Regions from separate parts of the Homo sapiens genome. Here all the other regions are linked to region 1. Evidence: promoter capture Hi-C in 16 types of primary human blood cells and fetal thymus (Javierre and others, 2016). All regions are on one chromosome and are shown on one strand. Each heading gives the region's core, a stretch centred on a gene start or on the middle of the fragment in contact. The rest is flanking DNA. Distances are from core to core; before and after follow the strand shown.

Evidence for each region. Contacts are between HindIII fragments. The CHiCAGO score rates a contact against its expected background, and 5 or more counts as called.
Region 2: a contact is called between a fragment that was not itself captured here and the fragment with the promoter of PDGFRA in region 1, in 1 of 17 cell types (erythroblasts). The highest score is 5.1, in erythroblasts.
Region 3: a contact is called between a fragment that was not itself captured here and the fragment with the promoter of PDGFRA in region 1, in 2 of 17 cell types (erythroblasts and naive CD4 T cells). The highest score is 6.9, in erythroblasts.
Region 4: a fragment that was not itself captured here is called in contact with the fragment with the promoter of PDGFRA in region 1 in 17 of 17 cell types (naive CD4 T cells, total CD4 T cells, total B cells and 14 more); the score reaches 19.0 in naive CD4 T cells.

What each region holds. Positions count from the first base shown.
Region 1 is chr4:54,227,296-54,234,565 of GRCh38, forward strand. PDGFRA (platelet derived growth factor receptor alpha) reads left to right here and starts at 1,998. Exons shown (of 23, transcript NM_006206.6): 1 at 1,998-2,120. RefSeq lists enhancers at 471-1,296, 6,028-6,578, 6,389-6,508, 7,016-7,065 and silencers at 6,059-6,168, 7,130-7,237. The HindIII fragment of the contact is 8,996 bases long and covers 1,136-7,270 here.
Region 2 is chr4:53,223,640-53,230,838 of GRCh38, forward strand. The region is part of intron 4 of SCFD2 (sec1 family domain containing 2); the gene reads right to left. Among named protein-coding and RNA genes, the nearest start is that of SCFD2, 140 kb to the right of the region's middle. The HindIII fragment of the contact is 5,659 bases long and covers 1-4,421 here.
Region 3 is chr4:53,205,897-53,213,194 of GRCh38, forward strand. All of the region lies in intron 4 of SCFD2 (sec1 family domain containing 2), which reads right to left. Among named protein-coding and RNA genes, the nearest start is that of SCFD2, 160 kb to the right of the region's middle. The HindIII fragment of the contact is 2,880 bases long and covers 541-3,420 here.
Region 4 is chr4:53,189,233-53,196,592 of GRCh38, forward strand. All of the region lies in intron 4 of SCFD2 (sec1 family domain containing 2), which reads right to left. Among named protein-coding and RNA genes, the nearest start is that of SCFD2, 170 kb to the right of the region's middle. RefSeq lists an enhancer at 6,075-7,360. The HindIII fragment of the contact is 8,287 bases long and covers 1-6,369 here.

The DNA.
Region 1 (7,270 bases), core at 748-3,247:
ACAAAGGCATCATTCAAATTAGGCAGGTAATTACTACCAGAAGGACAACTGGGTGCTCGCTTGCTCATCCATTGCTTTCTGCTTTAAACTCCCGAGGAGTCGCTGCCTGGAGACACTCCCGCCCGGACTGCTTCTCGGGCCCCATTAAACGGCTCTGAAATGAACTGTGAAGTTACCATTTGTGGGCGGAGAGCGCTGGGGCCCTGCGGACGGAAGACCCTGGCTTGACCGGACTAACAGTGTCGCCGAAGCAAAGCAGCCCCTCTGGGTAGGCTGTCTGTCTCGCCTCCTACCCTCTGGGGCAACTAGCCTAAAAACCCGGTTCTCAACTTAACAGCATGTGGCCCAGCACCCGCTTTTGCCTTTTATTCCGCACTCTGATTTTTGGGGGGATCGTTTGTTCCCGCTCATTTTCTACAAACATTACGGTATCCTGTTAGCATTCCGAACAAGGGGCTGTTCATATATTTGCCTTCAATGATTTCCTGAAGGGACATGTGGAAGTAATAGCGAGCGGTGCAGTCACCCAAGCTGAAGATGCACGAGAGCGGGTCGCGTAGAAGAACTGCGGCAATGGGACCCCCAGCGCAGCCCCAGGCGCCCTGTTTTCGAGGCTGACATCCCAAGATCCTGTCCTGGTTAGGCACAGCACCGCGCCCGTTGGAGTACTTCTCTGTGACTCTCCCCTGTCCACTGCACTGTGTCCACCCTCCTGGTGAAGGAGGAGACGGCTGTTGGACATGCCAGTCCCAACCTGGCCACTTTGGCCATTTTCAGAGTGCGTGTGTTGGGGTGGGGTTGAGGGAGAAGGATGAAGGATGACCCCCAACCCCAACAGGAGAATTCAAAAATCAGAGAGCGATGAAGGTGAACGCGCTCCCCTCCCCCGCTGTCGCTGGGAAGCCCCACTCTGCCCAGGTCTGGTTCCTGGAGCATCAGCGCCCCCTTTCCCTCGCCGGCAGGATCGTTTCCTCCCGACACTGGCCTCTCGCCTTGGGCGCAGGGTTTGGGGCTCAGCTGTCAATTCCAAGGAATTCGTAGGGTTCGACCCACGCGGCGGGAGGGAACGGAGGGAGAATCAAAAGGCATCCTCCCCCACGACGCGGAGGCGGTGGTACGATTCCTCAAACGCCCAAGCTTGAGCTTTTTTTGTATGCGAGATAGAAGCCAGGGCAACCTCGCCCAGATAACCCCGAAAACAAAGGCACGACCAGATAAGTGACTTCAAGGGAGTAAAGGTCGTTCTATCGGAGAACGTTCCAAACCTACACAGACCCTCTTTTCTTTGTACCGTATTTCAGACCACCCAGTCTTGTACACACACACACACCACACAAAACAAAAACCCATCATTGTCATATTGGACTCAACAGTTTGCCCAATCCTATTAAATAACTAGCAACTATATAGCCCTTCCCCTAAAAGACCCCTAGTTCAAAACGGCGCAACCGCTTGGAGATTTCTCCCGAGGGCCCTATTTCTCGTTGGGCCGAGTTTGTAGAAGGGACATTTCTTGATTCTAGATTTATATTCTCTCTGGGTATTAAATGCAATTTTGTATGTTCCTTTTCTTCTTTTCAAAGAGAATACAAAACTATAGCAGTCTAAGAAAATAACCCCAAAATGGGGAGGCAAACTCATTCTGGAAATGATGGGCTGTTTGTAGTTTCACAAAACCTCTTTCCCGGCAGAGCACCAACACCTCCCCCTTCCACCACCCCCCATCCCATCTGGTCTGCTTCTCCCCGCCCCCCAGTTGTTGTCGAAGTCTGGGGGTTGGGACTGGACCCCCTGATTGCGTAAGAGCAAAAAGCGAAGGCGCAATCTGGACACTGGGAGATTCGGAGCGCAGGGAGTTTGAGAGAAACTTTTATTTTGAAGAGACCAAGGTTGAGGGGGGGCTTATTTCCTGACAGCTATTTACTTAGAGCAAATGATTAGTTTTAGAAGGATGGACTATAACATTGAATCAATTACAAAACGCGGTTTTTGAGCCCATTACTGTTGGAGCTACAGGGAGAGAAACAGAGGAGGAGACTGCAAGAGATCATTGGAGGCCGTGGGCACGCTCTTTACTCCATGTGTGGGACATTCATTGCGGAATAACATCGGAGGAGAAGGTAAGGGAAAAGAAAAAATGATTTTTTGTTTATAAGGGAAGTCCCTGATCAGACTCTGGGACTGGAGAAAGCGAAGTAACTTCAAACTTTGGGCGACAAGAAAAAAAAAAAGGAGCTGGATTCCAGTTGTGTGTCCAGAGAGTAATTTTTTTTTTTCGGAATAAACTTCACTTGGGGACGGGTGGGAGATAACCATAGAGTTAGAAAGTCTAGGTATTTTTTTTAAACACACATTTTCCAGACCTATTTTTAAAAACAATGTTTTTCTAACAACCCTATGGCCTCCCAAAGAAATTGTTTAGGCTTACATTTTTGAGGTTTCTTTTGGGAGTGGGGGTGGTGTTCGTGAATACTGGGCCGAACACCAAGGAACTGGGGGTGGAGGCAGAGGTGTTTGCCCTCTTCTTGGCAGTGGGTCCTGGAAGGCGACAGGTTTTAAATGAGTGTTTTCATTCCTCGCCTGCGGTTTGGCGGGACAGCGCTGCAGCCCATGGTGTGGAGCGCGGCTGGGGGACCAGGGGGAGGTGGGGAGAGGGGAGCGTGGAGGGGAGCGTGGAGGGGGGCGCGCGAAGGGGTTGCGGGGCGCAGGAGGCGGGCTGGGCTCGGCTGGAGACCGGACCTCGGTGTTGGCCTACAGCACAGGGAGCCGGCCGAATGCGCGTGATTACTGGACGGCGCTGCTCTGGGAGAGAGTCGGGGCCAGATTTGGCGCGGCGGTGAGGCGGCTGCGGGACAAGCAGAGGCGCGCGGGCGTGGGCAAGGGTTTGGGGCGCTCTGGAGCGGTTTGTTGGGTCAGTGAGGTGCCAGGGAGAGCGGGTGCCTGCCGGGCAGTGTGCTCGGGTTGCACGCCCTAGCGCGGGGGCGACAGCGGCGGCGCGGGCGGGCGGTCTGGAATAATGACAAACACATTTGGCCCTGAGTGAAGAAGTCGTCGTCGCCTCGCATTCCAGCAACTGGGATTTGAGGAATTTCGAACCGCACACCAAGGGGCCCTCATTGTGCTCCGTGGCCCCCGCCCCCGCCTGTCTTCCCGCGCCCCCTCCTCGGTGGAATCATTTCTGCATTGCCCGGGGGCTCTGCTTTCGCTCAGTTCTGGCCGCAGGCAGGAAGAGAGGAAAGGTCTCCAGGAAGGTGCCGAACTTCTTGTGAGGAAGTTAGGGACGACTTGGAACTGGGGAAACTTGTTTGCAGGTAAGACAGAAAGGTGGGAGGTAAACCATATTCTCCCTCCGGGCACCCGAGCCCTGGACACCCCCTACCCGGCACCCTTCTCCGCGCGGGGGTGCGTGGCACTTGCCGTCTGAGCTCGCCCAGCGCTGCTCGGTCCTCTCTAGTTGGCCTTTTTTCCATTCCTCTCCCTGCCGGCTTCAGAGCCGTCTGTGCGTACTTCTCCTTCCTCTGCTGTCTACCCCCATGGAAACCAGATTTACACACGAAATTAACTCCGCCCGGCTGCGCCCAGGGAGCGGGCGGCGTCCATTTGGCATTGAATATGTGGGATCAGCTGTTCTATTCCGGGAGGGTGTCGGCCAGGTCGGAGCGACGAGTGTGGCCCAACCCGAGTACGTTGCCAGAGGGAGCCAGGAGCCTGGGCCGGGCCAGGTGTGCGAGAGCTGCCGATGGCCTGGCCTCGCGTCTTGGTCGGGAAGGACTTGCTGGCCTGGCAGGCTGTGCGTTGTGCATCCCTCCCGCAGCCAGAGCGCCGGTCCCGCACTTCGCTCCCCGAATTGTGCTAAGACCTCAGGATGTGCGCAAGGAGTGCCTGGAAGAACTTGCCACTCACTCCATCTTCCTGGGTGGGAGGCAAGCATGGATGGGGCCCATATCAGGTCCCTACCGCCCCGCGTCCGAAAAGCCGCGGGCTGGGCGGTGTGGGAAATGGCTTTTTGGCTCCGAGGCCAAATTGCTCAATGTTTTGGACCGACTCGCCTCGCCGCGGTCGCTCCTGACAAGAACTAGACAGATTTTTGGAGCAGGGAGCATCCAGGGCAAACGCACGACAGTCCTCCGCAGTGCATCTCACCGGACAAACATCCCCGGAGCCACAGGAGGGGAGGAAGGGGCTCTCCGGGCGTGCGCACCTCCCCAGCCGCCGCGCTGTCCCATCCCCGACCCCTAATCTGGTCAACCTGGACCCCGGCACTGCTGAATTGCATCCCCTCTTCTCCCTTTCTCCTCGGCCTCCTCCTTTCCACAACCCTCAAGATGAGGAGGCCCTGCCTCGACTCCCCGACAGGCGCAAGGCCGACCAGGCTCGCTTTGACGCCCTGGTCAGGCCCTGCTTCGGAGCTTGCAGTTTTGGGTTGACCCAAGTGCAGCTGGACCTCGTTCACAAGAGTGAGGGGAAGCCAAGAATGAACCCGTCGTTAGCCCCCGGTGCCCTGGCTCTTGTTTAAATCCTTAGATCGAGAAGGACTTGAAGGAGATCCCAGGCTCCCAGCTCTGCGCCCCTGGGCCAGTTTCCTCTCGGGACGCGGACTGAGGAGGGATGCAGGGGGAGGGGCATTGGGCCGGGCTTTCCAGCTGCAAACACGTCTGGCGCCGAGGCGGGCCCATTTTGTGCCTCCTGGGGACGGACCGTGGGCGGCGCGCAGCGGCGGGACGCGTTTTGGGGACGTGGTGGCCAGCGCCTTCCTGCAGACCCCACAGGGAAGTACTCCCTTTGACCTCCGGGGAGCTGCGACCAGGTTATACGTTGCTGGTGGAAAAGTGACAATTCTAGGAAAAGAGCTAAAAGCCGGATCGGTGACCGAAAGGTGTGGGTCTCAGGGTTCCCCGGGTCTAACTCGCCGGGTCCAACCGCAGCATCAGCCTTGGGGCGGCAGATAATCTTTCGGTCTCGCCTGGGGCGCAAGATGCAGGATCGGGGGCAAATGGCTTCTCCCAACTTCCCCCTAATTCGGGTTCTGCCAGATGGTTGTCGTTTGCTGAAGTGGCTCGGCGGCATTTCCTTTTGTTTTAAACTGATCAATGAGCGAACCTGGGATGGGCTGAAAAAGTAGATTGTAGGAGGGAATAATGGGAAACCCGACTTGGGGCGCCTCCTTCCCTGCCTCCTACTGCAGTTTCTCGGCCCCCGCGAAAGGGGAGCGACAAGCGCGGGTGGGCGCGGACTCTTGAGGGGGCAGAGGCGGCTATGGCGCGTGTCGGGCAAGGTGGCACCAGAAGGCACTTTTGTGTGTGTGTGTGACAAGAGTCTCGCTCTGTCGCCCAGGCTGAAGTGCAGTGGTGCGATCTCGGCTCACTGCAACCTCTGCCTCCCAGGTTCAAGCGATTCTCCTGCCTCAGCCTCCCGAGTAACTGGGATTACAGGTGCCCGCCACCACGCCAGGCTAATTTTTGTATTTTTAGTAGAGACGGGGTTTCACCATATTGGCCATGCTGGTCTCGAACTCCTGACCTCAGGTGATCCGCCCACCTCGGCCTCCCAAAGTGCTGGGATTTACAGGCGTAAGCCACCGCGCCCGGCCAGGAACGGTTCTTAAATGCCGAGAGGGCGCATGCTAGCTCTCCTCAGCATTCCCGGTGAGCCGCTACCCACGGCCGTGCGGCTCTCGTGCCCATAGGAGGCGCTGGCGAGCTCCTGTAACCCTAAACCCCTCGGCCCCTTTCCCCCCACCCGCCCGGATTCTCTTCCCGCTCTCCCCCCTCTCTCCACACCCGCCCGGCCCCCTCTCGGGTCTCAGTTGAAAACAATGCAAACGCAGAGCGTCGTGCCTGGGGCGCAGCGGCCTCTGCAGCTCTGAGGTTCAGAGCGCGGCGCGCAGGGGCGCAGGGGCGCAGGTCCCCGGAGCGGCTGGGCATCGCCGCCAACCCCGGGACAACCAAGCCGCCGAGGACTTGGTGGAGGTGGGAGGGAGAGCGGACCGCGCAGTGTTCCTCTGGGTCCCGGGGTCAGAAGCCGGACAGTGGCGGGGGCTGGACAGTCCGAGCGCAGAGCCTCCCGGGCGAAGTCTGCGCGCAGCACTCCCGGCTGCGCTGTCGGGGACCAGGAGCCTGGGCTGCGGGCGAGCTAGCTGGCGAGCCGGGTAAGATTCGCGGGGCTGTCGCGCCCTCTAGTGGGCTCCGGGGACGCATCCCGCTTTCCCCAGCCCCGGGCGGTCGGCGCCGCTATCTCAGTGGAGCGCAGCGCTGGAACCCCGGGGGCCCGGAGCGGAGGCTAATCTGGGTCACCTTTCCCCTCCTCCGGGCAGCCAGTGGACTCCTCGCAGGCTCTGTGTGGGCCCGGGAGGCGCCGGGTGGACGAGAGGGGGCCGAGGTCTCTGGGTTTGGATTGAGAATGGGACGTCCTTGTAATTCAATGTGGGAGAAGCAGGGGAGTGTGGAGGAGGACGGGTCCCGTGCGTTCTTGGGGGGCAGGCGCCGTCTTCTGCGTTCCAGCCCCTCGCCAGCTCCCTTGCCCCGCGGGCGGCCTGTTGCTGTTTGTTTGTTTTACGACCCTGCGTTATTGTGCAACGGTAACAGTCGTTTCCAATCAGCTGCGCGGCCGTCGCGGCCCTCGCCAGGCTGGTTTATGGGGGCGGCGGTGGCGCGCGGACAGATAGGACAGCGCGGCCCGGGAACGGCGTCGAGGTCCAGGCGGTCCCCCTGCCCCGAGGGGGCGGAAATGCTGAGGTGGCGAGAGCGTGGGTTGCACAGAACCCTAGTAGCGAGTCCGGCTGAGCCTCTGCGGCCTAGCCCAGCAGCGTCGTCTTCCCGGCTCCGAAGACGTCTTCCCGAAGCCCCGCTGCCCCGGCGCACCAGCTCCCGGTGATGGGGATGATGATGGGGATGATGGGGAGATGTCCCCGAATTCTCCTGGGGTCCCGAGGAGATTTAGCCATTTTCAACAGCAGTTTTCCTATTTCTGCTTAAACCCCGCGGGCTTTCAACTGAGGTCACCACGAAAGCTAAAAGTACAACCTAAGGAAGGAAGAGACTGGAAATTAACATTTGGGGTAGTGGAGCTCAGAATTCCTCGCAGCGGCGTCTGTGTCGCAACCCGTGGACGCACGTCCTTGGACCAACACTGCCATCTGCTGGCCACTCGTAAGAACTACTGCGACCCGCTGTGAGAATGGGCTTCGCGGAGACCATTAGGAAGGTGCTTTATTTTTTATTTTTTATTTATTTTTTGCTCAGTAGGACCGTAATAGGTGACTGATTTTCTT
Region 2 (7,199 bases), core at 342-2,841, 1.0 Mb before region 1:
GGAAATCTCGTTTGGCTTGCCTAGATGCAATTATGACTTTTTAATGCCTTTTAAAATGAGCCACCGCAAATAAGTCCACCAATGTGTTTCTTTTCTAACATAAAAGAACTAAAGACAATACTGATGGCAGTTGACATTTATAGAGAGCTCTATTTATGCCAGACACAATGTTAACTACTTTATGCAAATCTCATGGAAGGTTATAAACTTAATATATAAAAAGCTCTTACAAATTACAAAAATAATACTTCTGCATTATAGATACTACGAAACACAAAGAAAATAAGAATCTCACAATCCACCTGAGAGAAGATAAAGATGGTCATAAATTCTTTGCTTCTCCTCCCCTTGGGAGGTGCAGTCTAATTCTTTTCCCTTCATTCTGGGCTAGTCAATTAAGTTCCTTCATTCTAGCTAGTCAATTACTTTCTGGAACTTTCAAGGCTAGGTGATAAAAAGTCTTACATTTGGCTGGGCGCAGTGATTCACGCCTGTAATCCCAACACTTTGGGAGGCCGAGGCGGGTGGATCATGAGGTCAGGAGCTCGAGACCAGCCTAACCAACATGGTAAAACCCCATGTCTACTAAAAATACAAAAATTACCCAGGCGTGGTGGCATGTGCCTGTAATCCAAGCTACTCAGGAGGCTAAGGTAGGAGGATCGCTTGAACCTGGGAGGCAGAGGTTGCAGTGAGCCGAGATCACCCCACTGCACTCCAGCCTGGGCAACAGAGCAAGACTCCGTCTCAAAAAAAAAAAAAAAAGAGTCTTACATTTTCTGCCAGTTCCCGCAGAACAATTTCTCTGGATACCTTAACTTCTGTGTAAGAAGTCTGAATACCCTGAGATTGCCATGATGGAGAGGCCATGCGTAGGCACTGCAGCTGAGTCCATCCTTCTACCTAGTCCCTACAAAGCCCAGATATATGACTGAAGCCATCTTGGATCATCTCTCTACAAGCTGAATAGCCCCCAAATAACCTTAGTAGATGCCATGTAGAGCCAAAGAATTGCTCAGCTCAGCTCTGCCTGAATTCCTCCCCCACAAACTGTGAGCTCTAATAAAATGCTGGCTTTAAGCCACTAAGTTTTGGGGTAATTTGCTATGCAGCAATAGATAACTGAAAAACCTACTACTTAGAAAACTATGATAATAATTGTGATGTATTTTCCAGTATTTCTTCTACTTTATATATCTAATCTCCCTCTACTTTCTTCACCTTTTTTTATTATTTAACAGAGTTAGCTTCATGGTATATATGTAGTTTTGTTTTTCATGAGAATAAACTCTCTTCTATTAACATTACATGAATAACATTTCCACACCTCATTAAAAATATTCTTCAATAACTTAATTTTTAACAACTATAACATGCATTCCATCAATCTCACTGTAAAACATCTAGGTTGTTCCTAATTTGTCATTATTATAAATAAAAACCATAAGGAAAATATTACAACATAAATCATATCACCATATTTGATTATATTCTTAATTATCTTAATCTGAAATGAAATTACCATAAAAAATATAAACCTTTTCAAGGTTTATTGCCAAAGTGCTTTGACAAAATTCACTCTTCCAATAGTAATGTTTCTGAATGAACATGTTACTGAGCTCTACCCAACACTAATTATTATTTGATAATCTTTGATAATTTTAAGTGGTAAATTACATCTCAGCATTGTTTGGGGTTTTTTATTACTAGGAAAACTGAACATTTTTTTCATATGCTTATTAGCCACTATTATTTCCTCATCTGTAAAATGGCTGGCCACATTTTAAAAATCATTTTTTCTGTTGAATGATGTTTTCCTTATCCATATGAACAAATTCTTCACATGTAATATACATCAATCTTTGTCTTATGGCAAATACTTTTCCTATTTTGTTTGCTTTTATCAAGGTGAGTTGATAACACCCTATATAAAATTTTTAGAGCTAATAATAATGGCTAAAATTTGTTGTGTTTTCTATGTTATTGCCAAAGGGCGACTACCTGACATAAATTTTTGTATTCTAAAGACTTAATGAATTTGCTATTATGATTATCCCCTCTAGTTTGCAAATGAGGAAACTGTGCCTTAATGAGGTAGATAATTTCTACCAAGATCACTCAGTAAGTATCAGCAGCATTTAGTTCTAGAACCCTCTAATCTTAAGGTCCTTTCTCTAAACCACTAAGCCATACTATTATCAAATTTGGTGGCTTTCCCCCTTTGTGATTAATGTCATGGCTTTTAGGTTTTTCCCTATTCCAAAATAAACTCAATGTTTACCAATATTTTCCGGTAGTTTACTTGTTATTTGGGGTATTTTTAATTTTTTTAAATTTAACAGTATAGAAATTTGATCTCGCTGTATTGCCCAGATTGGTCTCAACCTCCAAGCCTCAAGAGATCATCCTGCCTTGGCCTCCCGAAGTGCTGGGATTACAGATATGAGCCACTGCAACCAGGCTGGTTTTGGATTTCTAATTTATCTTTTAATATAGCAATAATCACTCCCCTCATCAATTGTTCTTAGCCACATATTAAATATTATTTCTTTTCCCACTGGTTTGTGATACTGCCTTTAACAAATAAAAAAGTCACTAAAATACTCTTGCATCTGTTCCTAAACTATCTTGCAGCAATACAACATTATTGGTAATTATTTTTATGGGGGGGAGGGGACTAATTGCTGAATTAAAATGTAAGGACCAAAACCCAAAAAGACTACTAGAAAATACTGATAAACATTATTGATGTATAATTGATATATATTGATATATAATATTGATAAGTATTATCATATGGGCTGACACAAGTCTTTTTCCCAACATTACTGTTTTTTAGGCTTTTTTGGCTGTTTTCAAGAATAACTTAATCAAATTATTTAAAAAATTTTTCACTAACATTCTGATGAGCAATGAAGTTCATAAAATAAATTGAGAGGAAATTTTTAATGAACACGTACTATCTGCCAGGTGGAAAAATAACAATAAACAAAACATGGGATCCCTGCCTTCAGAGAGCTAAGGAGACTGATAAGTTAGGCAATATTTAAATTAATTGAATTATTTAAATTAGGGTGATCAGTGCAAGAGGATGGGCAGCACCAAAAAAAGGCAGCTTACTTGGACTTGAAGGATGAGGTAACACATATAGGTAAAGAAATGACCCAGTAAAAGAGAAGATCACTGTGGCTGCCTCCTTAACCAGAAACCAACCAACCCTCAAAAACCTGTCTATCACTAACTAAATTATTTTTAACACTCTTGTACAGTTATCAGGGGATTACATTTTTTCTGTGGGTTATTTACCCCGATCTAAAAAAGGTATCCCTAATGAGGTGCATTTCAGCAAACTCCTTGCTGTTGAGGATGTCCTGGACCTTCTCATCCTTTCCTGTCATGCTGTCTTCCTGCGAAAGAAGATGGAGCATGTGGCTGACAGATGGAAAGATGGCCAGTATGTGTGACCTCTGTAAGCGTCTCCTCTGGCCTCTTATCTGAGCATCACCTGACCTTCTTCAGTGATGAAAATCCTTCCTATCACCACTCTACAATTTTCTATAAAAGGACACCAATTATAATTTCAGCCATAGAAAGGTGACAAAATTAAGTATAATGTGAGAAAAGGACATTGTATATGAGAGATGTGAAAATAAATTTTAAAGAGGAAAAAAATGGCAATTTCCTTGATGATTTTTCCTGTCACAGCAAACAGTGAAATTCTCCTGTGTAGCCAATGTTCACAAAGAAATTTAGATCTTAAATAAACCCATATAAGCCATCTATAGAAGGGTGTGCCATAGAGGGGATTCTTGTAAAGATGACGCTAAAGTTCTTCCAAAAATGAGAATCTTGGTATAAAAACGGCTAAGATTTTGAAGTAAATGCAAACAACAATACAAAGTCTTTGCATGAATTTAAAAACTATATTTGTTGTTTGGATCAAGCCTCACTACAGCAGAATACCTTCACCTTTGGGGCTGAGCACTGGGAAGTCTAAACCCTTTATTCCAATATGATTCACCCATCAGTCATAATATATGGCTGGAAAATGGCAAATAAGATGAACTACAAATACTGGAGGGGAGTGCTCCAAACGAAATTCCAGGGTATATATTTATTCATAAAACAAAAATAAGGAATTATTTCTGCAAAAAATCAAAAATTATGAATCTGACTTTATTTGTATTTTCTGATAAATGTATGTACAGATGATTTGCTTATAAACAGGCAGAGCTGCACTTCTCATACTAGAAGTGCAGTTTGACAATTACATTTTTTAATTTATATTTTCAAATAAGCTCTTCAATGTAGTGTGGTAGAGTTATTGAAAGCACAGACTTTGGAGTCAGGCAGAGACAGGATTGAATCCAGGCTCCACCACTTATAAACTATGTAACCTAGGTAAATACTTAACTTCTCTAAGCTTCTGTTCCTTCCTCTGTAAAACAGGAACAAGGATAGTTCCTAGAACTGTAAGGTTTGAATAAGACAATGCATATGAAGCATTTAAGCCTAGTTCTTGTCACTGGGCAAGAGCTCAATGGTGGTAGATGGGGTGGTAGTGGGGATCAACTATCTCATAATTTCAGTACAAACATCTTGTAAAGACTTCAGGATGATTTTACAAAGAACAGGGTAAAAATGGGAGTGGTGTGGTGAAACAAAAGTGATAAGGGTTTCTGGCAAGATTGATACATTTCTGACAACATTAGACCAAGTTAGAGACATGAGCAGCTATAGTCATCCTTCTTCTACGACTCTTGGCAAAAACCCTTATGTACAAGTTGTCACTTAAACTTGTTGTCTTCTGTTGCTTCAACAATAACATTACCTCTTTTATGAGTTTGATGAAGATAAAATAGATACAAACGTTAAGATATTTTCTATATCTCAGATATTGAAATAAGATATGCTTTGACAAAATTCAACAACACTTCATGCTAAAAACTCTCAATAAATTAGGTATTAATGGGACGTATCTCAAAATAATAAGAGCTATTTATGACAAACCCACAGCCAATATCATACTGAATGGGCAAAAACTGGAAGCATTCCCTTTGAAAACTGGCACAAGACAGGGATGCCCTCTCTCACCACTCCTATTCAACATAGTGTTGGAAGTTCTGGTCAGGGCAATCAGGCAGGAGAAGGAAATAAAGGGCATTCAATTAGGAAAAGAGGAATTCAAATTGTCCCTGTTTGCAGATGACATGATTGTATATCTAGAAAACCCATCATCTCAGCCCAAAATCTTCTTCAGCTGATAGGCAACTTCAGCAAAGTCTCAGGATACAAAATCAATGTGCAAAAATCACAAGCATTCTTATACACCAATAACAGACAAACAGAGAGCCAAATCATGAGTGAACTCCCATTCACAATTGCTTCAAAGAGAATAAAAAACCTAGGAATCCACCTTACAAGGGATGTGAAGGACCTCTTCAAGGAGAACTACAAACCACTGCTCAATGAAATAAAAGAGGATACAAACAAATGGAAGAACATCCCATGCTCATGGCTAGGAAGAATCAATATCGTGAAAATGGCCATACTGCCCAAGGTAATTTACAGATTCAATGCCATCCCCATCAAGCTACCAATGACTTTCTACACAGAATTGGAAAAAACTACTTTAAAGTTCATATGGAACCAAAAAAGAGCCCACATTGCCAAGTCAATCCTAAGCCGAAAGAACAAAGCTGGAGGCATCAAGCTACCTGACTTCAAACTATACTACAAGGCTACAGTAACCAAAACAGCATGGTACTGTTACCAAAACAGAGATATAGACCAATGGAACAGAACAGAGACCTCAGAAATAATGCCATGTATCTACAACTATCTGATCTTTGACAAACCTGACAAAAACAAGCAATGGGGAAAGGATTCCCTATTTAATAAATGGTGCTGGGAAAACTGGCTGGCCATATCTAGAGAACTGAAACTGGATCCCTTCCTTACACCTTATACAAAAATTAATTCAAGATGGATTAAAGACTTACATGTTAGACCTAAAACCAGGAAAACCCTAGAAGAAAACCTAGGCAATACCATTCAGGACATAGGCATGGGCAAGGACTTCATGTCTAAAACACCAAAAGCAATGGCAACAAAAGCCAGAATTGACAAATGGGATCTCATTAAACTAAAGAGCTTCTGCGCAGCAAAAGAAACTACCATCAGAGTGAACAGGCAACCTACAGAATGGGAGAAAATTTTTGCAACCTATTCATCTGACAAAGGGCTAATATCCAGAATCTACAATGAACTCAAACAAATTTACAAGAAAAAAACAAACAACCCCATCAAAAAGTGGGCCAAGGAGATGAACAGACACTTCTCAAAAGAAGACATTTATGCAGCCAAAAAAACACATGAAAAAATGCTCATCACCACTGGCCATCAGAGAATGCAAATCAAAACCACAATGAGATACCATCTCACACCAGTTAGAATGGCGATCATTAAAAAGTCAGGAAACAACAGGTGCTGGAGAGGATGTGGAGAAATAGGAACACTTTTACACTGTTGGTGGGATTGTAAACTAGTTCAACCATTGTGGAAGTCAGTGTGGCGATTCCTCAGGGATCTAGAACTAGAAATACCATTTGACCTAGCCATCCCATTACTGGGTATATACCCAAAGGATTAGAAATCATGCTGCTACAAAGACACATGCACATGTATGTTTATTGCGGCACTATTCACAATAGCAAAGACTTGGAACCAACCCAAATGTCCAACAATGATAGACTGGATTAAGAAAATGTGGCACATATACACCATGGAATACTATGCAGCCACAAAAAAGGATGAGTTCATGTTCTTTGTAGGGACATGGATGAAGCTGGAAACCATCATTCTCAGCAAACTATCGCAAGGACAAAAAACCAAACACCGCATGTTCTCACTCATAGGTGGGAATTGAACACTGAGAACGCATGGACACAGGAAGGGTAGCATCACACACTGGGGACTGTTGTGGGGTGGGGGGAGGGGGAAGGATAGCATCAGGAGCTATACCTAATGCTAAATGACGAGTTAATGGGTACAGCACACTAACATGGCACATATATACATATGTAACAAACCTGCACGTTGTGCACATGTACCCTAAAAGTTAAAGTATAATAATAAAATTTAAAAAAAAGATATGCAATATCTGAATCAGGTATTGAAATCAGATATTCAATACCTCA
Region 3 (7,298 bases), core at 731-3,230, 1.0 Mb before region 1:
ACAAAATAAGCTTAATAAATTAAAAAAAACACAATTATCAACTCAAAGGAAAAAGTAAATATAATCATAGAACTTTACAACTCTCAGCTGTGAACAGTTTTTGCCTGGGCATTATCAGTACTAATTATTATTACACTAGTCCCCCAAAGTGCAGCAAAAATTTTAGTTAACTTGGTATATTAGCTGTGAGTAATTTTATAGAGTTCAAATTTCACTGTTAGCTTTTTAGTCCACAAATCACTACACAAGTAACAGATGTGCATCTTGGTCAATGACTAATAATGTCACTTCTTTCAAAGTCTGTAGGCAACCAGTTACTGCATATCTCTTATTTGGGTCACACACAGACAGCAAAGTGTGTAGTGCTGTTGCCTCCTTGTCTCCCAATAATAAGCCCATATGACATTTAATTTAAAAAATAAATAACTAAAAGTAGAAATTAGCAAACAGAAGATGAAGATGTTCCAGAGGAAGTGATGCAAGCAAAAAATCTTCACATTAAAGGACCTCTCAGAGATATGCATGACTTTGAATGTACAAAGCTTAAAATGCTGTAAGTTAACCCAAATTTAGAAAGAACTATGACTGTTTACCAAAGCATAGAAAACATGTTTGCTCCATATTGTAAGTTATAGAAGGTGAGAAATCTTCAAACTACTCAAGTTTTTTTAATCGTAAAAACTCCACTGTAATTCTCAATGTTGCCACTGCTTTAAATTACAATATACTAAATAAATACTAATTACCCTATACATGTATCACTGACAGTAATGAGTTTGTAATATTCTGACTAAAATAATTTAATGGTCATGGAACAATTATTATTTTTCATTGGTTATTAAATCACTTTGCATGGCCTCAATTCTGAACAGTCATTTTTACCATCCTACACTACTGTGCAAAGTGAGGATCATATTTGATTTTTAAAGCTATATGCATGAGTTTGCCTGCTAAAAATTAAATTAACAGTGCCTGGTTGTCTTAGTCCATTTTCTGTTGCTATAAGAGAATACAAAGACTAAGTAATTTATAAAGACATGAAGTTTATTTAGCTCACAATTCTGGAGCCTGAGAAGTCCAAGAGCATGGTTCCAGCATCTGGTGAGGGCCTCCTTGCTGCATCATAACATGGTGGCAGGTATGGCATGGCGAGAGGGCATGAGAGCCTGTGCAAAAGAGAGGTACCAGGGCCAGACTCACTTTATAACAACCTACTGTCTAGATAACTAACCTGCTCCCATGATAATACATTAATCCATTAGTGACGGTTTTGCCCTTATGACCCAATTACCTCTTATTAAGCCCCACCTCCCAACAATGATGCATTACGGATTAAGTTTCCAACCTATGAACTTTTGGGGGACACATTCAAACCACAGCACTGACAAAACCTAGGAATGTAATACATTTTTGCTAAAAAAAAAAAAAAAGGATGATGGCAAGAGGGGAGAATTTTTTTTTAAATAGTGCTCACATTTTTCAAACTGCTATACTGACAAAACCAACAATCCTTAGTGTCTGGAAAAGGTCAAACTTGAAAACATCATAAACCAACAAAACATGGCTGAGTAGTTTGAAATATATTATATATATATTTCATATATATATATTATATATATTATATATATAATATTTATATATTATATATATAATATTTATATATAATATATATAATATTTATATATATATAATATATATATAATATTTATATATATATATACAGACCCAAATCTCATGTCAAAATGTAATCCCCAGTGTTGGAGGTGGGGCCTGGTGGGAGGTGATTGAATCATGGGGGCAGATTTCCCCTTTGGTACTGTGAGTGAGTTGTCAGGAGATTTGGTTGTTTAAAAGTTCGTAGCACCTCCTCCTTCTCTCTTCTTCTTTCTCGGGCCATGTGAAAACATGTCTGCTTCCCCTCTGCCTTCCACCATGATTGTAAGTTTCTTGAGGCCTCCCCAGCCATGCTTCCTGTACAGCCAGTGGAACCACCAGCCAATTAAACCTCTTTTCTTTAAAGATTACTCAGTCTCAGGTATTTCTTTTTTCTTTCTTTTCTTTTCTTTTTTTTTTTCCCCCCATACAAAGTCTAGCTCTATCACTAGGCTGGAGTACAGTAGCAAGATTTCAGCTCACTGCAACTTTCACCTCCCAGGCTCAAGCCATCCTCCCACCTCAGCCTCCTGAGTAGCTGGGACTACAGGTGTGCACCAACATGCCCAGCAATTTTTTTCTTTTCTTTTTTTTTCTTTTTATATATATAGAGAGACAGCGTTTGCCATATTTCCCAGTCTGGTCTCAAATTCACGAGCTCATGCAATCCACTTTGGCCTCCCAAAGTCCTGGGCCAGACACGAGCCACCACACCTCGCCAGGTACTTCTTTATAGCAGTGCAAGAACAGACTAATACATTGACATTGAAAACAATAAGCAAGTTTATTGAGCGAAGTAACAATTGAGTAATGCAGGTACATCAACAATGATCTATACATATTTACTAAATAATCCTGTACATGTCACAAACACTTTCCTGCATGTTATCTCTTAATACTCAGAACAATCTGTGACAATGTTATTATAGTTTCTCCTATTTTGTAGAAAAAGACCTCATAGTTCAGCAAAGCTAGGTCCTATCCAAGTTCCCCATAGCTGGGTTTGTGGCAAAGCTGGTGTGCATACCCAATCTCCTGACTCCTAGTCGTGTGTGTTCTATGCTGCACCATGGCAGCAAAGGCTAAGGCAGTGCTCTTACCTCCCAGTCAAAGCCATATACACCTCTCATAATTCCAAAGCAATGGAAGCATATACATTTTCAGAATTAGGCAAAGAAGGAACTAGAAAAATCTTATAAGTTAAATATCTTGTTAAAAGTACGTCTCACATTAAATGATAAATTGATAAACTAAGTGAGCAATGTTACTGTGATTTTTAGCAAAACTAAAAATATTCCAGTGAAAGAGACTAATCTCAAGAAGCTCGGCCCTTTGAAAGTTTGCCTGCCTGCCTTTAGGCAACTAAGGGACTCTTGGCCACAGGAATGTACCCAATATTTGCATTTCTAACAAACCCTAGTTTGAATTCCCTGCTCCTGTGCACAGACTTAGGGTAGAGGATTAAGACAAACCCTCTCAGTTTGCCTGAGTTTGAAGGAGTTACCAGGACTTGGGACATTCAGTGCTAAAACCAGGAAAGTTCCAGGCAAACTGAAATGAGTTGGTCATCCTATGGAGGTTACATGATAGTAAGGGATATACGGTCAACCCTGTGCTGACTTCCTGCTCTCACTCTCCAAGGTCGAAGTCTATACAGATATTAACATAATATCAACAATCCAAAACCTTAGTGCTTAATGCATCCTACCATGCCCTTGATAAAGCTAAATACAATGATACACTAGATGAGGGGGCGGCAGCCAGGAAAGCTTCTCCTTTGAGTAACAGACTTTTGGTTAGTATTTGTGCTCAATGTATCCTTAGGGAACTGGATGCTGAGGTTGGAAAAGTGTGATGACTCTCTTCAAAGACCAAGTGGAAGTTCAGCACTAATGATCAGTTCCTCTTGGAATATAAGAATGTCCATTTGGGTATTCCTTCCTATAGTGTTAATAGTGGGTCAGAAATTATTTACAATGAACATAATTTCATTATACAGTATAGCTTCTGCTTCATTCTTTCACGGATACATGCCCTCACTGTGTATTCAACTAAAAAGCCACTCAGGGAATACCAACTATTGCTAGACACTGTGTTAAGAGTAGAAAAATGATGACATGGTCTCTGTCCTCAAGAAACTATAGTATAAAGAAGTGACATACCAGTGTTCTTACAGTCCTTAGATTGTTTTGCTAGTAACTTTGTAGTCTTCTTTCTCCATTAAAAAAAAAAATACAAAATTGGAAATAGTAGATGATGCATTTTGAGTGTGATTTAGGCAAAAAAGAGGATGGAGAACTCCAATCAGTAAACCCTTTCTCAAAGAAAAGGCCTAGCACTACACCAAAATTTTGGTGAATAAATAGATATTTTACACATTGTAAGTTAAAAAAAAGTTGATGTATGTATGAATCTTTCTATGATTCTCTCTTTTGAAGTGCTTTTTCAATTAACCAATCATCTTCTGGCCCTTATCACCATGGATAAGAAGACTTCAACTATAGTTTTAATTTCAGAAAGTGGGTTCACTCATTCTCAATGAATCCTTTTGATATTTTCATGATACCTTGAGCCAAAGAACCCTCCCATAATAGATATCTGTACTGGATAGACTCTACTTGACTCTAATGCTTAAGATTCTGGGCTCTGAACTGTGGGCAGCTAGGAGAATAGGTGAGTAGGGGTGGGAAAAGGGGCAGGCTGAAGTGTTGATACAAAGAGGCTCAGAAGGGCTTAACACAGGAGTGTGGCTGGAAAGATTTGTGTAGGCCAATAGTTCTCAAACTGTGGTCAGGAAAGTCCTGAGGGAACTTTCCAGGGGTTCCACGAGGTCAAAATTATTTTCATAATAATACTAAGTAATTATTTTTCTTTTTCACTCTCATTCTCTCAGGAGCATAGAGTGAAGTCTTCCAGAAGCTATGTGATGTGTGATACGACAACAGATTGAATGCAGAAGGAGAGACGAGAATCCAGCTGTCTTCTATTAAACCAGACATTAAAGGGATTTGCAGAATGTAAAACAATACCACTCATCTCACTAAATATTTCTGTTCTGAAAAACATATTATTTATGTTATCATATATATTTATTTCTATTTTTATTAATAACGTGCATTATTCTTTTTAATAAATTAATAAGCATGGTATTATGACAGATATTGATTTTTGTCCATTGTTCCTGGCTCGTAACTCCCACAGCCTTTGTTACAGTCTTTTATTATAATGTGGAATGTGTTAGACCTCAGGGGCAGGCTTCTGACCTCCTGCCCTCCTTTCACCTACCCAAGGCAGCACTCTAATCTTCCCCTGCCTTTCTGTTGTGGGTCTTAAGACCCTCCCAGAGATGGTCCACCCCATACCCTGAGGGAAGGAATGCTGCCCTCAAGAAGCCTCCATAAAAACCCAAGACGGGCCAGGCATGGTGGCTTACTCCTGTAATCCCAGCACTTTGGGAGGCTGAGTCAGGCAGATCATGAGGTCAGGAGATCAAGACCATCCTGACCAACATGGTGAAACCCTGTCTCTACTAAAATACAAAAAATTAGCCAGGCATGGTGGCACGCACCTGTAGTCCCAGCTACTCTGAAGCCTGAGGCAGGGGAATCGTTTGAACCCGGGGGGCGGAGGTTGCAATGAGCTGAGATTGCACCACTGCCCTCCAGCCTGATGACAGAGCAAGACTCCATGTGAAAAAAAAAAAAAAATCCAAGAGAACTGTGTTCAGAGAGGTTCCAGATAGCTGAACCCTTGGAGGTTCCTGGAGGATGCACACCCAGGGTGGGCATGGAAGCTCCATTCCCCTTCCCCCATACCTTGCGTTACACATCTTTTCATCTGTATCCTTTGTAGTATCTTTTATAATAAATTGGTAAACGTGAGTGTTTTCTTGAGTTCTGTGAGACACTTCAGCAAATTAATCAAATTCAAAGGGGAGTCATGGGAACCCCAACTTGAAGCTGGTCAGTTAGAAGTTCTGCAGGCCAAGACTTGAGACTGATGTGTTTGGGATGGGGGTCAGTCTTGGGGACTGAGCCCTCAACCTGTGGGATCTGATGCTATATCTCTGGGTAGATAGTGTTGGCACCAAATTGGATGATGCTCAGCTGGTGTCCGCTGCTTTGTGTGTGGGGAAAAATCCCCACGCATTTGGTCACAAATGTCTTCTTCTGTGTTGATGATTGTTGTAGTGTGAAAGTAGAAGAAAAGCATGGTTTGAGAGTTTTCCTCCATACAGTCAGTAGTTTTAAATTTTTCCATTTTATTTCTAAGATGGTTGATACCAATAAATATAATCCATTTAAACAAAAGCTCTTTGGAGCCCACAATAACATTCAAGAATGTAAAGGGGTCCTATGACCAAAAAGTTTGAGAACCACTGGCTTAGACCATACACTGGAAAACCAAAACTACCAGCTAAAGAGTTTGAATTTTAGGCTTAACAAGGCTAATTTCTGCCTAGCATTTTACTACTTCTCCTTCACTTCTTCCCTTCTTCAGTTACCTTATAATATTGGATGGATAGTACACCCCCCAACCAAAATTTCCTCCAGCTGAATGTTAAATCACTCAGGCATGGCACCTCTATTCCTTCTGCTGGGGAAAAATAAATCAGAACTTAATAGAATCCACTGTTGGGAAAGCATTCTCCACCCCTCAAAATCAAACGCTCCTTTCCTACCCCAAAGTCGGTAAAGTTAACCATACATTATAGCTTATAAAGGACCAGGACTTCCAAAAGTCAAAACAACACCAAATGTGGAAAGCACATTTAGCTTAGTGTAACTCTCAGAGCACCCAAAGTGACATAACCACAATGAAATCAATTACCTAGTCAGCAGGTGTTTGTCCATGTCACTTCCCAAACCAATAACATAGTCCAGGAAAGGCTGGAAACAGTATCCAAATTAAAAGAAAGCAAAAAATAAATAAATAATAATAATAATAAATAATTTGCCCATGAACAAAGAACCCACACAATATAGTATTAAGGAGATGGTAAGAGAGAGAGGAAGAAAGTGAGCACGTGTGTGTGTGTGTGTGTGTGTGTGTGTGTGTGCATGTGGTGTCTGTGTGTGTTGACGTGGAAGGGATAAAGAACTATAAACAAATGATTAATATTCATTAAGGTACAAGGAAAACTGTTCATATTATGAATAAAATTTTAGAGTAGTTGTTTTTCTATAATTGTTATATGGGATCATTTTTTCTCTTGAGGTGATGGTAGTTTTAAAAAGGAAACCAAATGAACTATTCAAATTCTCCTTCACAAGTGAACCTTAACTCATCACAATGATTACACGGTTTTTTTTTTTAACCAGCACACATTATTTCTTCTATCTTGTTAACAAATACAGTTGATTTTTAAAAATTCTACACATGAGAGAAAAGCCAGCAAACTAGGTGCAGGTAGACAGGTGGCCAAGGAAAATATTCAGCCTGTATGTACGAATAAGGCTGTTCTAGATGTTAAAATATGGAAACACTACTGTAATAATGATAAATGAAGTGTGTGTAAACGCATCTGGTACACACAAACAATTTCTAGCAATGATAATCACGATTAAATTATTTAGTAGGTGTAATGTGAAAAGCACTACCTTTTTGCAAAGTTTAATGTCTAAAGAAAGTCCAGTTGCATATAA
Region 4 (7,360 bases), core at 976-3,475, 1.0 Mb before region 1:
AGTGAGTAGGATTAAAAAACAAAGAAAAACAGATTCCTGATAAACTATTTTTAAAAGCTGGATCCAAACATGCCTGAAGCTATTCATCACCATCTGATTTAGATTCTGTCACATGAGACTAAAAGGAGACAATAAATATGGGGGAAAGGAAAGTTAGATGGTTGTCCCTTCCCTCCCCAGTTGATCTACCTGTCTTGGTCAGCATGGGTTACTATAACAAAATATCATGGACTGGGTAGCTTAAACAAGACATTTCTTAGCTTGCAAACTTCGCTTCCTTCTTGGCTGTATCCTTGCATGGCGGGGCCTGAGAGAGCAGTAAGGGAGGAATTCTCTAATTTCTTCTTATAAGGGTACTAATCCCATTATAAGGACCCCACCCTCATGACCTCATCTAAACTTAATTACCTCTCAAAGGCCCCACCTCCAAATACCATCACATTGGAGCTTAGGGCTTCAACATAGGGATTTGGAAGAGACACAAACATTCAGTGCATAGCACTACCTAAATTGCTTTTAGACACACACAAAATAGACTGGAGGAGGTTACTCTATGCTACCTCCAAGCAGATCTGTGTGACTGTCATTGTACTAGAATACATCACCAGAATATTGGCTACATCCTTAAGTGTATATCACTGCTTACTCCAAAGCCTAACCCAGTGCCTAGAACACAACATCACCCAATAAATTTTTGCTGAAAAATGAATACGTGAATTAACTAATCTTTTGGGACTTATTTTCAATACAAACTAAACAATAACATGAATGCTATAATAAAGATATCAGTAACATGATATGAAAATACACAGAAAGGTCTAACTCTATATTGGAAACCAGATAATCTGGAGTCACATTCCAATATTTAACTGATCTGAATCCCTCCTGAAACAGTCAATGTATCTCCTCATCTTCTCCTTAGCCTTATCTTCAACAGGCACAAAATACTTTAATAATGAAAAATAATCCCCAATCACTGGCATCTTCTACTTGACTACTGAGAAACAGCTCTGAAACTGTAGCATAGACAGATGTTGGCGTGTGTGTTTTGTGTATGTGTCCTTATCATGGTCTACAAGGCCCTACAGGCTCTGTTTGACCTCGGCTGTTCTCCTTGCCTGCTGTGCTCCAGCCACATGGGCATCCTTGCTCTTTGAAAACACCTGGCACTTCTCATCTCGGGACCTTTGTTTTTGCTATAACCTCTGCCAATAGATGATACAAGTGGCTATTCCTTTTCAGGTGTTTGTCCAAATGTCACCTTCTTAGTGAGGCCTTCTTGACCCTCCTTTTTACAATTGCAAACTACTCCACCTCTAATACTTCCTATTCCATGGCATTTATCCACGGCATTATACTTTCTAATATATGATTCACTTATTTATTTTCTTCATCGTCTATCTGTCTTCCCATACTAAAAGATAAACTCCATGAAGGCAGAGATTTCAGTCTGTTTTTTGTTCTCTGTTGAATCCTCAATGCCAAGGAAATAATAGATGCTGAATAAATGAACGAAGAAATATAACACAAGAGAACTACAACTAAATCATGAAGTGCTCTGATTCAAATTAAATATGAAGATTTTCCAATCAAATAAACTACAGAAGGTTATGTCTGTGAACTCCTTCAGAAGTTAAAACTAGAGAATTCCTATAAATATATTTAAAACCATAATCACTATAAAATATTCCCTTATATTACAGAAGTTAAGACATAAAAATTATTTAAGAAATGAAATGTGTTATCACAAAAAACTACACCAATAACCAGAAAGTATAAGGGTTGCATTTACTTTGCTTTAGATCTAAAACAGTATTAAATATAAAATTTGAGGGCAGAGTGCTGTGGCTCACGCCTGTAATCCCAGCACTTTGGGAGGCTGAGGAGGGCAGGTCACTTGAGGTCAGGAGTTCAAGACGAGCCTGGCCAACATGGTGAAACCCCCATCTCTACTAAAAATACGAAAAATTAGCTGGGCCTGGTGGCAGGTGGCTGTAATCCCAGCTACTTGGGAGGCAGCTGAGATCGTGCCACTGTACTCCAGCCTGGGCAACAGAGCAAGACTCTATCTCAAAAAATAAGAAATAAATAAACAAACGAACATAACATTTGAGTGATATTCATTAGCAAAAAAATCAAGTGTGAAAATATTCATAAATTATGGTTATATGGGTTTTGTTTTTTGTTTTTTTGAGATAGAGTCTCACTCTATCACCCAGGCTGGAGTGCAGTGGCACGATCTCCGCTCACTGCAACCTCTGCCACCCCGGTTCCAGTGATTCTCCTGCCTCAGCCTCCCGAGTAGCTGGGATTACAGGTGCATGCCACCGTGCCCAGCTAATTTTTGTATTTTTAGTAGAGAAGGGGTTTCACCATCTTGGCCAGGCTGGTCTTAAACTCCTGGCCTCGTGATCCACCTGCCTCGGCCTCCCAAAGTGCTGGGATTATAGGCGTGAGCCACCGCGCCTGGCTGGTTATATGTTCTCTTACAGAAATTAAATAAGTAACTGTCATAGAAAACAATAGGAACACACTTTGTGACTGCAAAAAGGTTTGTCTATTGGAAAAACAGAAAGCACCAATTAGAAAGGGGCTTCCTGGATGCAAAAAGTCCCACTTCTACTGCTTGTAACAGTCCCTGTCCCTGGAGCACTCTTTTCCTGATTTCCTTTCCAGTAGAGACCACTCTAGGTAAATGGAAAGATAAGTTTAGCCCTGGCTGTCCCCACATGCCTTAACAGGGGAACAGTAATATTAACATTTAATGTCAGGAATCCCCAGCTCTGGACTCTGGGAGTCAAATGTTTTGTTTAGCAAAAAGAGTGTCTTGAAAATTAACAAATTTCCCATTACAAATTCAAACTGCTGACTTCTCTTAAAAATCTGCAACTTTAAGCAACACCGAAGTTGAACTGCTTAATAAAAAGAGGAACTAAAGAGTAGTTGCCCCTTGACACTAGGCACCTGTTTTCAGGTTCACCACTGTCCCCACGACTCCCTATTGTCTTACATCTTGTTTCTACTGCCTGCCTGGCCAGGGAAGGGTTGAAAGTCCTGCTGTATATAGTCTAGTACCTTTCCTTATCGTTTGTAAGCATGAACCCTTAACTCCCTGCATTCTGTTGTTTGATTCATTAAACTCTTAACTCCTTCTGCCGTAGATTTAAATCCTACTGCAGAGTAACATGAAATCAAGGTCAGAATCAAATTTTCTAGGGGAAACTGAGTGAGGGGTATATAGGAACTCTCTGTACTATCTGTGCAACTTTTCTGTAAACATAAACTACTGTATTCTAAATAAAATGTTTATTTAAAAAATCAGAGGGGAAAGCATGAACTATTCAATAAATGGCAACGATACAAAAGAAAACCCCACGAATTGCCATTCTTGACCCACTCAATGTATGACTGCGTGCAAGTCACTCATCCTCTCTTATCTACAAAATGGGGATGGTAATTCCTCCTCTGCCTTACTCACAGTTTTGCTGTGATGATTAAATGGGATAACAGATGTAAAAGGTCATGGAAGAGCTGTCACTGTATAGTAAATGCTAATCTTACTATAGTAAGTGTACTAATAGGATATTAGTAATATATAATAAATGTGCTAATAGGATAGCACATTTAAAAATATTACAAAACAACAGCATCTTATAAGAATCTTTAAGGATGTTACACCAAGAAGGTTTGATTATCTATACATGGTTAATGGCACAAAAGAAATTATGAAGCCTAAGATTACATACTCAGGAAATATAAAAATATACAAATTAAAAACAACCTCCTTATTGTAAACGAGTTGTAAGCATAAATTACATCTAACTTGTCAGACTGCTAAACTGAGAAATGGCTAAATTTCCTGAAAACTAAGGATAACTTTAAGGTCAGCCAAATAAAGTTTTCAGGAATAATATATATGACCAAAACAAGTCTATCCAGGAATGACAATGTTAAGAAGTGAACAAAATTCATCTGTAAAGGAAACTAAGACAAATGTTGATATTAAAATGTATGTAATGAACTAAGATTACCACTACCTCCAAGGAGAATGTAACAGGATTTCTTAAGTGGTTAGTCAGCTTTAGGATTCCAGACAGTCAAGGTTGCTGTGATTATCTGTTTCAAAGAAACAGGTCTACAGAATACAAGTATATTCTGGTAACAGTAACCAAAAGACAAAAAATAATTTAAGAAGTACTTGAGGCATCGTGTCACTACATCCATCACTTAAATCTATGGACTTCAGTAATTTGCTATTGAAAATTAATCAAAATGGTCCACAGGTCATTGGTCAGGTTTATTCAGTCATCAAAAAACCTCGCCTAATTAACCAAATAGATTATGAAAAATGTCTTCTCTGGAAACCTTCACCTTACCAACAAAGGGAACTTTTGAGACTAAACAAAGCCAAGAGCAGTTACTTATATGCCAAATTAAGACCTCTGTTTAAGGGGGAAAAGAAAAGTACAATGGAGTACATGAAGAAATATTTTTCTTGCCTTTTTAAAAATATAGAACTTTGAGTACTTTTTGTTTCTATCACCGTTGTTTTTAAAATATTTTATTCTTATCAAAGTAAAATATAAGCATGGTTCATAAGATTCTATTCAAATAGGACAGAATAATTTACAATGAAAAGCAGCAGCCTCCTACCTCACCCCTTCCCAAGTCTGCGCCTACTTCTCAGAGAAAATCACTTTGGGTTGATTTTTGGTTTGGGTTACTCTGGCGATCAGCATCAAGTCATAAAATAGAGTGCTATAATTACACCACTTCTTTTAAAAATCACTTTTTTAGCACTTTCTATTGGCTTCCTACTATGATGGATTAGAATTTAGCTTGCTTGCATCCCCACCCTACACATACAACCAACATATACACAGACAACGTACATTTATATAACACCTTTGGTTTCTCTATTGATTACCTTCTTCATTTAAAATACTATAGTTACACTTTTGTCTCTTCTTCCATCAACTATAGAGCATCCTTTTTGTCTCGTGTGTAAACATACTAACGAATGCAGTTTTCTTTTCCTTTTCACTCCTCCTGTCACTACTACTACCACTATGTTAGCTTATACCTCTGAGATTCTCTTTCTTTTGGTCAATGCTTATTCCAATTATGTAAAGAAAAAACTCACTATTATCTATTAAAACCTTTTTAGAACCTATAATTATATAAGTTATTGCTAGCAGTACATTTGTGCCTCACTTTTGAAGACTATTATTCACTATGAAAATCCACTCTAGTAACACATATATTCTTTTCTTCATATTACGGATGAACATAGATCAAATTTCTTAAAGAACTAAGTTTTACTCAGCCAAAGAAGTACCAGTAGTTTCAATTTATTGTTGAAACTAGAGGCTTTCCATAGTAGAAATCCATCATTAGAAAATAACACAGATTTAGGATAACTTAATGATTTGAAGGAAATCATAGACTAGCTGAGATGAACACAAACCATCTTTTATCTTAATCCTTCTCTACAGAGTATCAGCCTCCTAAACCAAAGATTTCTTTTCATCACTACCTGATGACCTCTGGCACAAATCACCCTATATCCCTTCTGTCTCCAACCCAGTACACACGAGCGACACTCTGTCTCAAAAAATTTAAAAAAAGATTTTATTTTCTCGTTTAGAGCCACACATTTGAGCATCATGGCTGTAGGTACAGATACAGCTGCTGATAAAAAGTCAATGGATTTGAACTGGACAGATTGGACATTAACAGGATTATAGGTTACAGATGTCATGTAAAAACCCCAAGTGGCTTTAAAAACAGAAAAGTCAGTATGTATCATGTAGTGGTAAAGCAGGCTAAGAGAATGGGCTCTACAGTCAGAATGGCTGGTTACAAGGACCGGCTCTGCCACGGCCAGTAGTGTGACTTGAGCATGTTACTCAAGCCTCTGTATCCCAGCTTCGTCAATTTAAAAATCGAGTGCTGTAAGGATTAAAAATAATGGTATATGTAAAGAACTTAACATTGGCATGGCATATAAGAACTTAACAAGTGAGATCCACTAAAATTATTAGGAGTAGTAGTAGTAATAGTATGTTATCGGTCAGAGACAACTTCCCCGATTTTTTTATGTTGGACCTAATCACATCTTTCACTTCTGCACATCTGGTGAAGTCAAATAAATGACTTTCCTTTTCAGAAACCTGCCTTTACCTCTAATTGTAGTCAAGGCAAATAGTCCTGATAGGCAAATAGCCCCCAGGTGACCCTTCTGGTCTGGGCTCACTGAGATATTAACCCCACATTCCTACGGATCCTGGTTTCACATTGTGTCCTTCAAATGCTTTCACCATGCCACTTCTCATAGTCAGCCCCAGTTTTTAAGGTGCATTTAAAATAAGCTTACATTTGGAACCAGCTAAGAATGCTAAAAACAGATGTGCTACTTTCCAGACAGACTGAAGAAATCGTACGAACAACTGATTCAGTACTACCTGGATTGTGACTAAAACCTATCAAATTATAGCTCCTGATAACAAGCCTGAAGAAAAAAGTTAATTTAGTGATAGTGCCCTGTTATTACACATTTAGGGCAAAGAAAAGTACATTTCTATGGCAATTTCCAAGATATTAAAAATGAGATAAAACCAGATGAGAGAAAAACAGAAATCTAGCTCAAGACTTAACATCACCATATGTGAAATATCAAATAAATAGCTACTCTAATCTCAAATGGTAATCTTTCCTTTCAGCCTTTCTCATTTTATTGGACCAAATATTTCAAGCCTCATCTGTGTTCTATTACAATCCTAAAGACAACATGATATCTAGGATAGTGTTTATATATAAAAATAATTTTAGATCAGGAGGTGACAGAAACTGATGTCCAGATTCCATTACCCTAAGACTTCATGTAATTACTTTGTCTTTTTAAAAATCCTTAAATGATCATTTTCTCCTTTGGCACAGAGTCTTTTGACTCCTCTTTTGATGCCAACATAGTCTCATCATGAAAATAAATTGAAAGTAGGTGGTCTGGTTAGTCTTCACAATGCTACATTTTAATCAGGCAAAGCAGTGAAAAACATGATTGTCGAAATGCTGGCGTGTCTTCAAACAACAGTGTATGCTGTCCATTTTACTCTCAGTGAAAAAGCTCTTCAAGAGATTTCGATAAAGGTTTCCTTCCTACTTGCAGTCCACATTTGTAATGTTTATATAAGTGGAGGATATAAATCTTTCTCCAATGAACCCCATGGTTTTTAAAGCAGATTCTTGTTATAAACTGCCTGTTTCCGTTTTGCCTGCCTAAGCAAGCCAGGCAAAGACCATTCGCGAGAGACTGGAACTAATTTAATGTGCTCCAGGTTTAAGCCCCTAGCCTCTGCGC